4 separate regions of the Homo sapiens genome follow, and regions 1, 2 and 3 are each linked to region 4. Evidence: promoter capture Hi-C in 16 types of primary human blood cells and fetal thymus (Javierre and others, 2016). All regions are on one chromosome and are shown on one strand. The core of a region is centred on a gene start or on the middle of the fragment in contact, and the rest is flanking DNA. Distances in the headings are between cores, read along the strand shown. Region 1 overlaps RAB31 (RAB31, member RAS oncogene family). Region 2 overlaps LOC124904244 (a long non-coding RNA gene). Region 3 overlaps RAB31 (RAB31, member RAS oncogene family). Region 4 holds the start of PPP4R1 (protein phosphatase 4 regulatory subunit 1).

Region 1 (3,505 bases), core at 319-2,818, 130 kb after region 4:
CGGAAGGTTGAGTTGATCACCAGTGGCCATTGGTTTAATCAGGCATGCCTACGTCATGAAGTTTCCATAAAAACCCAAAAGGGTGAGTTTGGAGAGCTTCTGGATAGCTGAACATGTGGAGGCTCCTGGAGGGCGGCGCAGGGGCACACTGGGGAGGGCATGGAAGTCCCACACCCCTTCCCACATGCCTTGCCCTACAAGTCTCTTCATCTGCATCCTGTGTAACATCCTTTATAATAAACTGGTGAATGTCAGTAAGTGTTTCCCGGGGTTCTGTGAGCCACTCTAGCAAATTAATCAAACCTGAGGAAGTGGTCATGGGAACCCTGATTTGCAGCCCATCAATCAGAAGCACAGGACACCTTCCTCCTTGTGCTAGGCCTCTGGAGTAGGAGGAGGCAGCCTTGTAGGACTCAGCCTCCCGCTGTGGGATCTGACATTATCTCCAGGTAGGTAGCTTCACAATTGAGTTGAACTAGAGAACACTCAGAGAACTAGAGAACGCTGGTGTCCGCTGAAGAATCAGTGGCTTGCTTGGTGTGTGGGGAAAACCTCCTGTACATTTGGTCACAGAAGCATTTTGTGTTGTGAGAGTAGACTAGGAGAAAAAACATTTTGTTTTTCTACTCAGGTGGCATGTTCCAAATAAAAACACTGGAAAGAATATGAGTTTAAAGAAATGGATTGTAATGCATGATATAGTTGCATACTATATAAATACATCTCGTAAATTTGGATTTCATTGCCTTAGAATTTCTAAGAATTTGGCCAGGCACGGTGGCTTACGCCCGTAATCCCAGCACTTTGGGAGGCCAAGGCAGGCGGATCATGAGGTCAGGAGATCGAGACCATCCTGACTAACACGGTGAAACTCCGTCTCTACTAAAAATAAAAAATTAGCTGGGTGTGGTGGCGAGCACCTGTAGTCCCAGCTACTCAGGAGGCTGAGGCAGGAGAATGGCGTGAACCTGGGAGGCAGAGCTTGCAGTGGGCCGAGATTGTGCCACTGCACTCCAGTCTTGGCAACAGAGGGAGACTCTGTCTCAAAAAAAAGAATTTGTAAGAATTCAGACTCAGGGTGCAGGATGAATTTACTGCTTAGGAAGATGTAATGTGCTAAAAAAAAAAAAAAAGTAAACAAACTATCTGGATGATTCTTAGCCTATGGAGAGTAAAGCACAGGTTTTTAAGTTTCTTAGATACACTGTATTGATGAGGATACAGACTAAGCTGCTGAAACAGGAGATCCCAGATTATAGTGACTTCAGCTTTTTCAGTCCTCCTGGTGGCTGGTTCAGGGCTTGTTTGGTGGCTTGTGGGGTCATCACATTGTATACTCTCCTGTCCTGTGTGCCAGCACCTGGTCACATGGCCACCCCTGACTGCAAGGAAGATGGGAAAATGTCATCGTTAGCTGGGTAACCAGGGGCCCAGCTAAAACTCAGGGTTCTTTTTCTAATAGTTGAAAGGGAGAGTGAGTATCACAGAGCCCCAGCAGTTTCTCTCCTAAGCATCTTTTATTTTCCAATGAGGACACTGCCAGGCCAGTTGTGTCTTCCTTGGCTAGAGCTTTGATCTGCAAACTTGGAGCTGATTCTGACCTCAGACCCTGGGGTGACGAGAGGAGCTCTATGATTCTAGTTAGACCAGCCTAATGGATGAATCCTGACTCCCTCACTTGCTGTTTGTGTGGCCTTCAGTTCGGCTGTTGAGCCTCTCTGACATTCCGATTCACTGGTAATGATAACTGTCTCACAAAGTCATTGTAACAAGTATTTTGAGAACATCCAGGATAATGCCAGTCATATGATGAGTTTTCAGTAAAAGTTCCTTTGTTCCTTCCTCTATAGGATGAATCATAGAAATCATCTACTTACCTAACGCTTCCAGTGAAACAAGTTAATTTGCTCAGAGCCTGATTTAATTTGCATTATTGCATCAGGATGACACCTCTTTACAGTAAAGTTATTTATACTTCTCCAAATGCAAAATTTAAAATTATTTTGGCTGGACGTGGTGGCTCTCGCCTGTAATCCCAGCACTTTGGGAGGCCGAGGAAGGTGGATCACTTGAGGTCAGGAGTTCGAGACCAGCCTGGCAACATGGTGAAACCCTGTCTCTACTAAAAATGCAAAAATTAGCTGGGCGTGGTGGCGCACACCTGTAATCCCAGCTACTCAGGAGGCTGAGGCAGGAGAATTGCTTGAATCTGGGAGGTGGAGGTTGCAGTGAGCCAAGATTGCACCACTGCACTCCAGCCTGGGCAACAGAGTAAGACTCTGTCTCAAAAAAAAAAATTCTTTTGGTGGGTTAATGTTACCCAGAAGCAGATCATACTGTGCTCACACATCTTCTGTCCACATCATACCAATGCTAGAATAAAGGGGGTAAACAGAAAAACAGGTTTTCTTGGGAAATGACATATGGAAGTTGCTGCACAGGGGTCTCTAATGGCAGAGGTGCCTCCAGGGGGCTTTGATATGTCAGCAGTAGCAGCGCACACTGCAATGCCTTCCTTGCTTGTAGTAAGTGGCCTCTGGGTTCTTAAAACAAGACCCTATTGTGTAAGATGCTGGACTTGGGAAAACCCCTGGCAGGGGCTGCATTGAGGCTGGTGACTCCTGTTGGGGCATTGTGTGCTGCATAGTGTAATAGGCAGCCACTCTAGGCCCAGCATGGTGGCTCACGCCTGTAATCCCAGCACTTTGGAAGGCCGAGGTGGGCGGATCACTTGAGGTCAGGAGTTCGAGACCAGCCCGGCCAACATGGTGAAACTCCGTCTCCACTAAAAGCACAAAAATTAGCCAGGTGTGGTGGCGGGCACCTATAATCCCAGCTACTAGGGAGGCTGAGGCAGGAGAATTGCTTGAACCTGGTGGGGCAGAGGTTGCAGTGAGCCGAGATAACGCTACTGCACTCCAGCCTGGGCAACAGAGTAAAACTCCGTCTCAAAAAAAAAAAAAAAAAAAAAAAAAAAGGCAGCTGCTCTGGGCACCCCTGGATTGTGGCAAACTTCAGAATTGGGTGTCAGTGCTAAGTGACCAAGACAATACCACCGTGGATGGATCACAAGGGCTGGAGTTGCAGAGTCAGAGCTGATGGAGCTTTCCTGCCAGCCACGCACCATCTGTCCAGTGGGAAGTCCTTTCTGTGCTGGGAGGAAGGGGCCAGCAGGACCACTTGTCCTGCGCCAGTGCCAGCCTCTCTCAGCCTGTGTGCAGCACGTACATGTCCATGGCAGCCCTCGGCTGGATCTCAGGGCTGTGGGCAGGGGTGGAGGCCACTGCTAGGCTGTCCTGCTGCTCCAGCAGCCCCCTCAGGGGCCGTTGACTTTTCACAGGAACCCAGGCCTGCCATTGAGGGTGGAGATTTCATTTGGAAATGCTCGCCTCACTTCCCATGCGGTTCCTCTGTCTGCTTTATGAGCGGGACATACCCCTCATCCACTGCCTCATCCAGGTTTCCTGGTGTGGCAGGGTCCCCAGGGACCCAGAGGGAGCCAGGA
Region 2 (3,550 bases), core at 36-2,535, 81 kb after region 4:
TGTATACATTGTGGAATGGTGAAATCAAGCTAATATATCCTTCACTTTATATGCCTATTGTTTTTTTTGGGTGAGACTATTTAAGATCTATTCCAAGCAGTGTTTAAGCATAAGATCCATTGCTGTTAACTATGTAGTCAGCACATTGCCCAGCAGGTCTCTAGCTCACTCGTGGGTCAGGCTGGACAGGAAAGGGGTGGCAGGCTGCTGAGTCGCCACATAGGTTCTGGGGAGCAATTCCTCCTATGGAGGTCATGTGGCTGACGTCCTGACAGGTGGCAAGTCGGCCCCTAGAGGAGGAGGACAGCTAACTCCTTTCCCCAGAAGCTCTTTCACCTGGACATCTCTGTCAAGACTGAGTCAGCCGGGCATGGTGGTTCACACCTGTAATCACAGAACTTTGGGAGGCTGAGGTGGGAGGATCACTTGAGGTCAGGAGTTCAAAATCAGCCTGGCCAACATGGTGAAACCCTGTCTTTACTAAAAATATAAAAAAATTAGTGGGGCGTGGTGGTGGGCACCTATAATCCCAGCTACTCGGGAGGCTGAGGCAGGAGAATTGCTTGAACCTGAATGGTGGAGGTTGCAGTGAGCTGAGATTGTGCCACTGCACTCCAGCCTGGGCGATAAAGTGAGATTGTCTCAAAAAAAGAGAGAGAGAGAGAGTGAGCCACTCCTTTAGATGAGTTGGGATGGGTTGCTCTGCTGCATCCACACTTTGTTAGTTAATCTGCCATGTGGAGCTTCTCAGAATTTCGAGGCACTTCAATTTTGCTCCCCAAGTAAGGTCAGGTATGAATACGAAAAGAAGTAATCCAGGAGCTGATCCTTCTATTCTTTGATGAGTATGCTTGCACTATTTGAAGGTTGCTGTTATGCTTTCCTTAATCCTCTCCAGATGGAACATACCAGTCTTTCAAAGATTCTTCTTAGTCTGGTGACAGGTGATGTGTTACATATTTCTTGGTCAGCCACAAGGTGCCAGGACTAGCATGGTGCTAGGTTACCTGTGGGGCCCTGTGGTGTCTCCACGGCATTGCAGTGACATGCTCAGTGAAGGGGACCTGTTAGGCATTTCATGAGTGGCTCAGAGATCCTCAGTGAGGGGATGTGGCTGTCTTCATGAGAGGCACCAATGACAGCCGTGTCCTCAGACTCTTGCTCCCACAGGGTCACACATCTGTGTCTCTCTCTGCACTTTGGCTCCAGGCCCTCTCTCACCTCATGCCTGAGACCCACCCCACAGCACCTGAGTCTACATCACCTTAGTTCCAGTTGCACATAGAAGCCAAGTGGACCCTCAGGACCTCAGGTCCAAATTCCTGCAAGAGAATTTCACTGGTGTGCCTTGGATCAGACATTTACCCATGCCTACCTGTGGCCAAGCAGTTGGGGTAGTAGTAAAGCAGTATCTGCCAGGTCTCCTGCCCCACCCTCCCCCTTTTTTTTTTTTTTAGAAGGAGCATTCTTCGGAGGAAAGAGTTTTTCTGAACTGGGCAGAGTCTTCATGAAAGCATCTGCTATAAGATTCTTTAACTTATGACTCTGTAAATATAGAAAAAGGAATAAATAGGAAAAATTGGACTCACTTTGGAATGGTACACTCAGTGTGTCAAACAATTAAACAGAAACACCACACACAGTCTGTGGCTGGCCCCGACGGCGGCTGGGAGGATGACAACTGTCCCGCCCTTCCTGCTAAGCCTGTCTTTCCTTTTGCTTAATCTCTGGTGGGGTCCAACATGCTGATCTCTGCTGGAATGGGCCCAGGCATTAGGATTAAAGCAAATTTCAGGGATTTCCATAGACACTTTATCTGTTAATTCTCAAAAGGCACTCAACAGTTGTCTCCTTAGTTCTAGTTGGCGCGTGTGTGAGTTACGTCGCAAGGCTGGAAGGCAGGAGGTTTGCATGCTTTCAGAATGCCCTGCGTGTGCATGTGGCAGGTCCTCATTATTCCTGTTAGTCCAAACTGCACCATTTTGTAAGCTCCCTGCTATTTTGCAGACCTTGGTCAAAGTGAAACATTTCACAAGGGTTTGGGCCACAAGAAACATCCTGCCTAACCACCTGACCACAAGGCAGACAGGCAAAGACCCAACTAAAGAAACACCCCTATCATATTCTGCTGGGAGAAAGGGCAAGGAACACCACATTCTGCCAGAACAAGGGCCAGAACCGCCTCATCATGGGAACATTTTATCAACATCCTGCCAGGCAGCAAGCCATACTGCCCAGACCCCTTCCACCCATACTTATAAGTATCCCCGGCCTGTAAGCAGTGGTGGGCTCTGGTGTTAAGCTGGTCCCCACTTCTGCAGGTGTCTGTTTAAGCTGCCCTCTCCCTCTGTGTGTGTCTTTCTTTCACCCTCGCCTTCCCTTCAAAACCTGACAGTCCCGGTGGTGGGCCTTCTCTGTTTGTGCTGTGTTTTCTCTTTTTCTCTGACCTTCTCTGAGCTACGGCTCTGAGACAGTTTACAACAGGCACCTGCCTCAACCTCCCAAAATGCTGGGATTACAGATGTAAGCTACCGCTCCTGGCCTAGAAATGACATTTTCATACCCCCAAGTAGGAAAGTAATACTCTCAGAATAATATAATTGGATACATTTCCTGCCAAGAAAAGTTTATCACATTACTTGTCCCCCCTCTCATTTTGCTGCAGATTGGTGGCAGTTTGTCACGGGCAACTTGGGAGCCATGTTTTAGGCATGATGTGCAATGGGAGATAGGAGAAGGGCCAGGCCTGCCCTCCATGAGCTCATCCCCAGGATTTCAGCTGGAGGCAACCTTCAATGGCATCTTGTCCAACCTCCTTCTCAGTGTCTAGATGAAAGAAATGACACAGCTGAGGTCTAATAATGGAGACACAACCATGACACAGTGTAAAATGTGGAAATCCTCTCAAGGAGGAATGAAAATGTCCAATGGGAATACTCTGAACTGGGCAGAGGAAAGAGAAAGCAGGGAGGCTTGAAGAAGCCGCATATAAACTAGACATTGAGGAGTGCTGTGATGTAGGCCAATGCTTCTCCAACTTTACTGTACATCAGAATTACCTGGAGGGCTTGTGAACACACAGAGTCCAGTTTCCAAATCAGTAGTCTAAGGAGAAGCCTGCATATTTGAGCTTGTAACCGTCTCTCAGCGAGCAGTATGGCTTGCTGCCCGGCAGGATATTGATAAAATGTTCCCAAACTGTTTCTGCCGAGCCTGGTTTGGAGACTCGAGATGCTTCGAGAATCACCAATTTAGATGTCCAGAGATTTGGGACTTCGGCAAAGGTACAGAGACCAAAAGGTAGGGTGGGTTGGCGCAGGGAAGGTGGGTAGGTGGGATTCTGTAGAATAGTGAATGCTATGCTAAAGAGTTTAGACTTTACTTGGATGGGCAATGGGAAGGTGTACAAGAGTTTTGAACAGAAGAATAGAATTTAAAATCTTCTCTTTTTTTTTTGAGACGGAGTTTTCCTCTGTAGCCCAGGCTTGAGGACAGTGGTATGATCTCGGCTCACTGCAACCTCTACCTCCTGGGTTCAAACGATCCTCCC
Region 3 (3,220 bases), core at 223-2,722, 98 kb after region 4:
GACTCTATCTCAAAGAAAAGAAAACAAAAGAAAAGAAACATCAGTCATATCACACCACATTTGTGGCTTCCTTTTTTTTTTTTTGAGGGTGGCTGTAAGTTTCAGTTTTATTGAAATCAGAGGACATTTTATTTGAAAGACCAAATGACCTTGTTGTCCACACTGAGTAAGATTTGCCACATCCCCTCGTTTGGCTGGCTCTTTCCTGGGTGAGATGTGTGCAGCAGGCTGTGTTTCTAGCTGCTCATCCAATTAGGCTGATTCTCTGGGTGGGATAACATTGAGGGAGATCAAAACCATTTGACTGTCTTCGGTTTACTCTCTTCTCTCTCTCTCTCTCTCCTCTTTTTTGTTTTGAGACAAGGTCACATTCTGTCATCCAGGCTGGAGTGCAGTGGTGCCATCATAGCTCACTGCACCCTCCAACTCCTGGGCTCAGTGGATCCTTCTGCATCAGCCTAGGTTTATTCTCTTGATTCGAGAGACCCTGTGGATCAGTCAGTGCTAAGTCCAAAAGTCCTTTAAAAAATATATGTATATTTTTGAGATAGGGTCTCACTCTGTCACCCAGGCTGGAGTGCAATGGTGCCATCCTGGCTCACTGCAGCCTCAGCCTCCCAAGCTCAGGTGATCCTCCCACCTCAGCCTGCCAAGTAGCTGGGACCACAGGTGTGTACCACCCAGCCCAGCTAATACTTTTTATTATTTTTGTAGAGATGGGGTCTCCCTATGTTGCCCAGGCTCTTTCAACATTTTAACAGGAACCTTGGGCTCATTTGTGCTTTGCGTAGGGAGGTCTGTCTTTTCTGGGTGAAGTTTTGTGTGTGGCTGGCATTCAGCTTCCTGTTTTTTAGCCATGAGACACCTCCCTGAAGTCTTGCTATGACCAAGACCCTGACAGCCACACCTTCTTTCTGCCTGTTAGAATCACTTTCTGTCGGGTTTCCCTTATAAGGTGATAGAGAACATAGACTTCATAACAAAATATCACTCTCACTGGGAAGGCTGAGGGGTTGGTCTTTTTGTGCCTGGTACTGTGCTCAGTGGGGACTTGGGGACATGCTTCGCATTTAAGGTATAGGTTGTTTTAGGCATGGGCAGTAGGCGCTTTCAGCACAGGCTCCCTGCTGGTCACTCTTTGCTGTAGTTTCCTGCTCCATCCATGGGGTCGGAGGTCTTACCTCCTGACGTTAGAGTCATTTGCAGCAGGTGGGAGTGAAAGTGGGCCGGGTGCCAGGTCTTCTTTACCTGAACCTCTCCTGTCTTCCTGGCACATTAGGAATGTCCAAGCTTATTTCTATTGGTGAATGCTCCCACATGGGATGGATAATGGCCTGTGGAACATTCTCTGAATGCTTTGTGTTCTTGGAAAACCAAGGACTGAAGAGCGTTGGGTTTGTTTAGGTTACCTGTTATAAATTCTTGGCTCACATTTCATGTGTGGACTTTCTTGGGTTTATTCCACATGGGGACAGCCCAGCAAGCCTTTGTGAACGCCCTTTCCTGGCCTGAGCCGAGTCACCTGTGGAAGTCAGCCGTGCAGGAGGGTGTGCTTGATAGGGGGAAGCACCCTGGGCAGGACCCCATGAGTTTCCTTCTTACCAGGAAAGTGTCATTCGTCCCACTTTGTGATCTGAACTGGTATTATGAAACATGAAGCTTAAAGGCAACAAAGTATGTTAACAACAACAACAAAAAATACTTAACAAAAACAACACTGAGGCAGCAGCTGCTTCAACCCCAAAGGTGGAAAAGTTTCCCAGTATGCATTTTTAACACACATCACCATGTGGCAAGAAGCAGGAGGAAGGGAGAGAGTGGGGAGGAGGAGAAAGAGAAGGAGGGGACCTTTGTTTTGTTATCTCCTTGGGGTATTTGTGTGCGTGCACTTAAAAACTGCGTGCACTTAAAAACTGCTTCCTGATGGAATCCCAAAGAGATTTATATTTGGACTTTGGTTGTCTTGACAACAATTTAGAAATTCCTACCACTTCCTCAATAGCTGAGTGATCAGTTAAAAGAGCCGATGGCTTCCCTGCTTCTGGTAAGGAGCTTGTTGAAGCATCTTGTGATCTTTGTTGGAATGTATATGGTGGCTCATTAAAGAGCAGTCAAATACCTGGGATTTGGTGAGACATCTGGGTAATGGGTACTTCACCTATGTCCAGGGCCTTCGCATGGAAGGCCTCTTGTCTCCCCAGGGACACTAGGACGCAAGAGTAGAACAGATTTATACTCACAGTAAGGCAGATCATCAGAACTGTGCAACCTCACATGAGTTGCTATGAGCACTGTATGACAGAGTATCCAATAAGGTGATAAGAATTTGTTAGTGTTATTGTGGAAGGAAGTAATGCATAGGATAGTGGGTTGGGCTAGGTAATGATCACATTTGCTTTCCAAGTCTGAGATTCTAGTAACTTACTATTTTTTCTCCCGAGACTGGCATTTCTTGGGGAAGGGGGATGGTGGGGAGGGTTGAGTGGCTAGCCACAGCATTTATTTCTTGGCACAACTGATTCCTCTACTAAATTGAACCATTTGTGGAAAGTATGTTCAGCATTGGTGACTCTGGGTACGTTCTATGTTACACGAGAATAAATATGATATAGTGGGCTATCTTCCCAGCAGTGCCTGGCATATGGTAACACTGTGTCTTATGCACCCATCCCAGGCTGATGGAATCCATCAGGGTCCCTTTGTTCCTCCTTTGTTCAGGGTCAGCATTGCTGCTTTCATCCTCCCTCAGCTTTCAGAGCTCAGTGCATCTCTGGAGTGTGTATCAGAATCATTTGAGGAGCATTTTCAAGCTTCTCATGGTCCCTTCCCCCATCCCTTATGTCTTAATTTGAGCTGCTGTCACAAAAATACCATAGGCTGGAGGGCTTAAACAATAGACATTTAATTCTCACAGTTCTGGAGGTTGGGAAGTCTAAGACCAAGGCGCTGGCAGATCTAGTGCCTGGTGAGGGCTCGATTTCTGGTTTGCAGACAGCTGCCTTCTTGCTGTAACTTCACATGACTGAGAGAGTGCTCGGTCTCTTTCTCTTCTTATAAGGACGCCAACCCCATTCATGAAGGCTCTACCCTCACAACCTAAGCACCTCCCAAAGGCCCACCTCCTAATATCCTCACATTGGAGGTTAGGCTTCAAAATGGGAATTTTGTTGGAGGGACACAAATATTAATTCCATAGTACCTTGTCAATAGTGTTCAGGCA
Region 4 (3,527 bases), core at 1,028-3,527:
GGGAGGTTAAGTGAGTTGCCCAAGTCTGCCCAAAAAGACACTGCTAAGACAAACAGAGCAGCCTGGCTCCAGTGGTAACTGTAATACTGTACTGTACACCTAGATTCAAAACTGCTTGTAAACCACTAGAGGGCATGGGTTGTGCCCATCTTTCTCAAAGCTCCATCCCCAGTACCTGGCAGAGTGTTGAAACTCATGGTTGAATTTTTCACAGGTATGCCTTCCCCTCTACACTGTGCTTCTTGGGGGCTAAGGAAGAAACTGAGACTGCATTTCATCCTTCAGGAGTGAGAAGTTTTTGCTCCAGTCATAAATACTTGCTGAATAAATGAATCTTCTATTTACGAAGTCGAACATAAATATAAAAAGCCCTCCTCGAGGTAACATAATCAGGGCCATTTCTCCAATCCTAACCTGGCAAGAGATCTGAAATCAACAGATGCCTTAAATAATATCTCAAACTTACTATTAGGCAGATAAGTGGCTTAAGGTAAACATTAAATAAAATGTTAAAGCTGCCCTTCACTACATGAGTACTGCTCCCTTTAAGAGAGCTGTTTTGAGCCACCTCACTAAAAACACAGACTTAGCAAAAGTTTGGATGTGGTTCATTTACTTTAAAGATAAATTACTCGTTTCAGATAATCCATCTAAATAGTAAATCCCCCTTACTTTACTCAAAACAACCAGGAATCTAAAAATTAAGTTTACTCTGAGTAAGGGAACCACATTAGACAATGCTAAGGATTAACTACAGAGTATTTAAAAGAGTAATTTCAAACTGCAGCCATCTCTGAAATTACTTATACAGGTACTAGACAGTCAATCTCAGCATCCGGTAGGCTTTCCACTAAACAGACCACAATCCTACTATGGTTATCATCTCAACTCAGAACAATTTCTTGGTCCCTTATGTATCCCATGATCTTCGCTTATATATTTTGCACACTCTGCATTTTTAAAATGCATCTCAAAACCTATTGATTTTTTGATGGGTCGCTATTTTGGAAGATTAGCAAGAATAGAAACTATTTTAAGTTAACTGCAATTTGTCACTTCTTTCAATACAAACCTGCTTAACTCTTTTGTCTTTTCTATCGTGACCCAAATTATTTTCTGAGGCTTAGAAAAGTACATATAAGACGAAAAATTCCTTTCTAAATATCAATTCCGTCGCCATCAGGAAATGTCAGAAACTTTGTCTTTTTAAAAATAAAAGCGTCAACTCTTTAAAAACTTCAGTACCTCAAAGGAAAGCTGCACTGTTAACACTGAAGGAGGGCTGGGTGATTTCTGAACATCCGCATTAAAGAAATATGCTCTCCAAACCTAGTAATTCCTGCGGAGGCCACACCTTCTAACCTTCTCGTAATCCACTAATCAAATCGGGAGCATCTGAAAACTGCTACCAGCCAAAGTAAAATGACAGGTATGTCATCCTCAAACAATCCAAAACCGGGTCGGGGAGCCCAGACGGCTAGCCGGGGCCCAGGCTGACCCCCGGGCGCTCCTGGAAGAGCGACTCTAAGGAAACACACCTCCCGCGCGAGCCTCTTCCTTCCTAGAGTGACGGGGGAAGGGGACACCAGGGGCAGAAACACACCCAAACCCCACTTCAAATCCTGCCCCACCGCTTCTCCTTCCAAAACAGCCGCGCCACTGCTGAGCCCGCAGGCGATTCGGGGGCGCCGGGAGAAGAGAGCGAAGGGCGGAAAGCGAACTTGGGCGTTACTCCGGGCGTCTCCCTCCCCCAGCGGAACCTGGGCGCGCCGTTTCCTCACGGACGCGAGATTTTCCCCCCCGATCGCCACCCCAGCCCGCCTGGGGCCGCCCTCGCCCACCGTCCCCTCAGCCAGCCAGGGCCCGGCCCAGGCCTCGCCGCCGCCCGCCCTCCCCGGCCGCTCCCCGCGGACTGCCAGGCCACCGCGAGGCCGGGCCACTCACATCCGTCTGCGTCCTCCTGCAGGTCCTCCTGAAGCAGCGAGAGGTCTGCGCCGAGGGGAGAGAAGAAAGGCCCGGTCAGCGCCCCGGGGCCCGGCGCGACGCCCCCCCCCCGCCCGCCTCCCCCCCGCCCCGGGGGCGCCTTCCCGCGCCGGGACCCCACGCCGGCCCCGGCCCGGCAGCCACTCAGGGCTGCGGCGGAGGGCGGGTGGGCTCGAGGAGCCGCCGCCGCCCGGAGAACAGGGGGCCACGTACCCGCCATCTTGTGGTCGCCCCCTCCTCCGCGGCCGCCCGGGGAGCCGGGGCTACATGGAGCGGCGCGAGCCGGGGAGCCGGTGGACGCGCGCGGGAGGGGCGGCGGGGAGGAGGAGGGCCGGGCTGGCGGGGGCGCGCGCGCGGGGCGGGCCGAGGGCCCGGGCCTGCCGCGGGCGGCGCGGCTCCCGGCCGCCCGGGCCCCCGGCCGCGCCCCGCCCCGCCCCGCCTGCCCCTCCGCGCGGCTCCCGGGCGACCGGCGCTCCCGCCTCCCGCCTTTCCCGCTGCTTGCCGGGTCCCGGCCCGGCGACGCGCGCTCACACCCTCCTCCCGAGCCGCCCTCACGCCGAGCGCTGCGGACGGGGGCGCGCAACCTGCCGCCGGCCGGGACCCTGCGGCGAGTGCCGGAACCCGGCCGGGCGGGGCCTCCCGCGGCCCGGCCGCTTTATTGGGTCACCGGCCTCGCCCACCGCCCTGCCAGCCGCAGCCATCTCGGCGGGCGCGCCGCTCGCAGCCAGCGCCCCATCCCCAGGCCTGCACGTACGTCGTCGGCGATCCGGGGCCGGGGGCGGCTCCGAGGTCGTCGGGGCCGGGGTCCCACCTCCTCTTGGAGGAAGCGCCGCCTCCCCACCCGCCCGGGGCCCTCGCCAAGTGGCTGCTAACAAAGCCCAGGGCCCGGCTGCGGGATGGTTGACTGACAAAGTCATGCCTGCCTAGCCAGCTTCCTCGTGCAGCACGGTGAAGGCTGGGGCGCCGGGTTTTTACTCCCACGTCCTGCCAACTCGAGCTGACAAGGCGGGCAATCCACCAGCGGGAGCGTTGGCAGGCCCGGGGTCAGATCCTGATTCAGCCAGTTAATTGGTAGGAGTGGGGCCCATTTGTAGAATGAAGGTGATAACTGCCTCGTGGGGTTATTGGCATTAAATGAAGAATGTAGGGAACCTAGCATGGTTCTTGATGTCTAGGAGGTGCTCGGTGAAGGGTGCCTATGATTCGCTTTGTCTTCTAAATACTTTTGGCAGCACTTGAGGTGTTAAAGTCTGTATCCCAGACTTTATTAGTCTTGTTGTTTTACGTGACTTAAGCGATTAGCTCAAACGCCCAAGTACAAAATGGGGCTAAACCCAGGTTTTCCGACACGATTCTACCTCCATGGCTCTATCTCCAGCTCCACCCAAGGCCTCCAAAATGGTGTTCTCCTAAAGTGACCAACAAAACACCAAGCTGTGTCATGGTGCCACTTTGGCGATGTGGTCTCTTAGGAGAGGGAATTCTAAGTAGTTAATTAGCTTGTTCCTTTCTACGTTGTAGTCTTGACCAAGGACAATGTGTTG

The links. Contacts are between HindIII fragments. The CHiCAGO score rates a contact against its expected background, and 5 or more counts as called.
Region 1: a contact is called between a fragment that was not itself captured here and the fragment with the promoter of PPP4R1 in region 4, in 1 of 17 cell types (neutrophils). The highest score is 7.6, in neutrophils.
Region 2: a contact is called between a fragment that was not itself captured here and the fragment with the promoter of PPP4R1 in region 4, in 1 of 17 cell types (neutrophils). The highest score is 6.5, in neutrophils.
Region 3: a contact is called between a fragment that was not itself captured here and the fragment with the promoter of PPP4R1 in region 4, in 1 of 17 cell types (neutrophils). The highest score is 11.0, in neutrophils.

The regions. Positions count from the first base shown.
Region 1 is chr18:9,738,427-9,741,931 of GRCh38, forward strand. All of the region lies in intron 1 of RAB31 (RAB31, member RAS oncogene family), which reads left to right. Among named protein-coding and RNA genes, the nearest start is that of RAB31, 32 kb to the left of the region's middle. The HindIII fragment of the contact is 6,224 bases long and covers 1-3,505 here.
Region 2 is chr18:9,694,161-9,697,710 of GRCh38, forward strand. All of the region lies in intron 1 of LOC124904244 (a long non-coding RNA gene), which reads right to left. Among named protein-coding and RNA genes, the nearest start is that of RAB31, 12 kb to the right of the region's middle. The HindIII fragment of the contact is 9,250 bases long and covers 1-3,550 here.
Region 3 is chr18:9,710,847-9,714,066 of GRCh38, forward strand. All of the region lies in intron 1 of RAB31 (RAB31, member RAS oncogene family), which reads left to right. The region is part of intron 1 of LOC105371981 (a long non-coding RNA gene); the gene reads left to right. Among named protein-coding and RNA genes, the nearest start is that of RAB31, 4.2 kb to the left of the region's middle. The HindIII fragment of the contact is 369 bases long and covers 1,289-1,657 here.
Region 4 is chr18:9,612,282-9,615,808 of GRCh38, forward strand. It overlaps PPP4R1 (protein phosphatase 4 regulatory subunit 1), which reads right to left and starts at 2,278. Exons shown (of 20, transcript NM_001042388.3): 1 at 2,197-2,278; 2 at 1,945-1,989. The coding sequence starts at 2,203. PPP4R1-AS1 (PPP4R1 antisense RNA 1) reads left to right here and starts at 2,526. Exons shown (of 3, transcript NR_110773.1): 1 at 2,526-2,733. RefSeq lists an enhancer at 1,395-1,474 and silencers at 1,745-1,994, 2,095-2,364, 2,465-2,974. The HindIII fragment of the contact is 7,461 bases long and covers 1-3,527 here.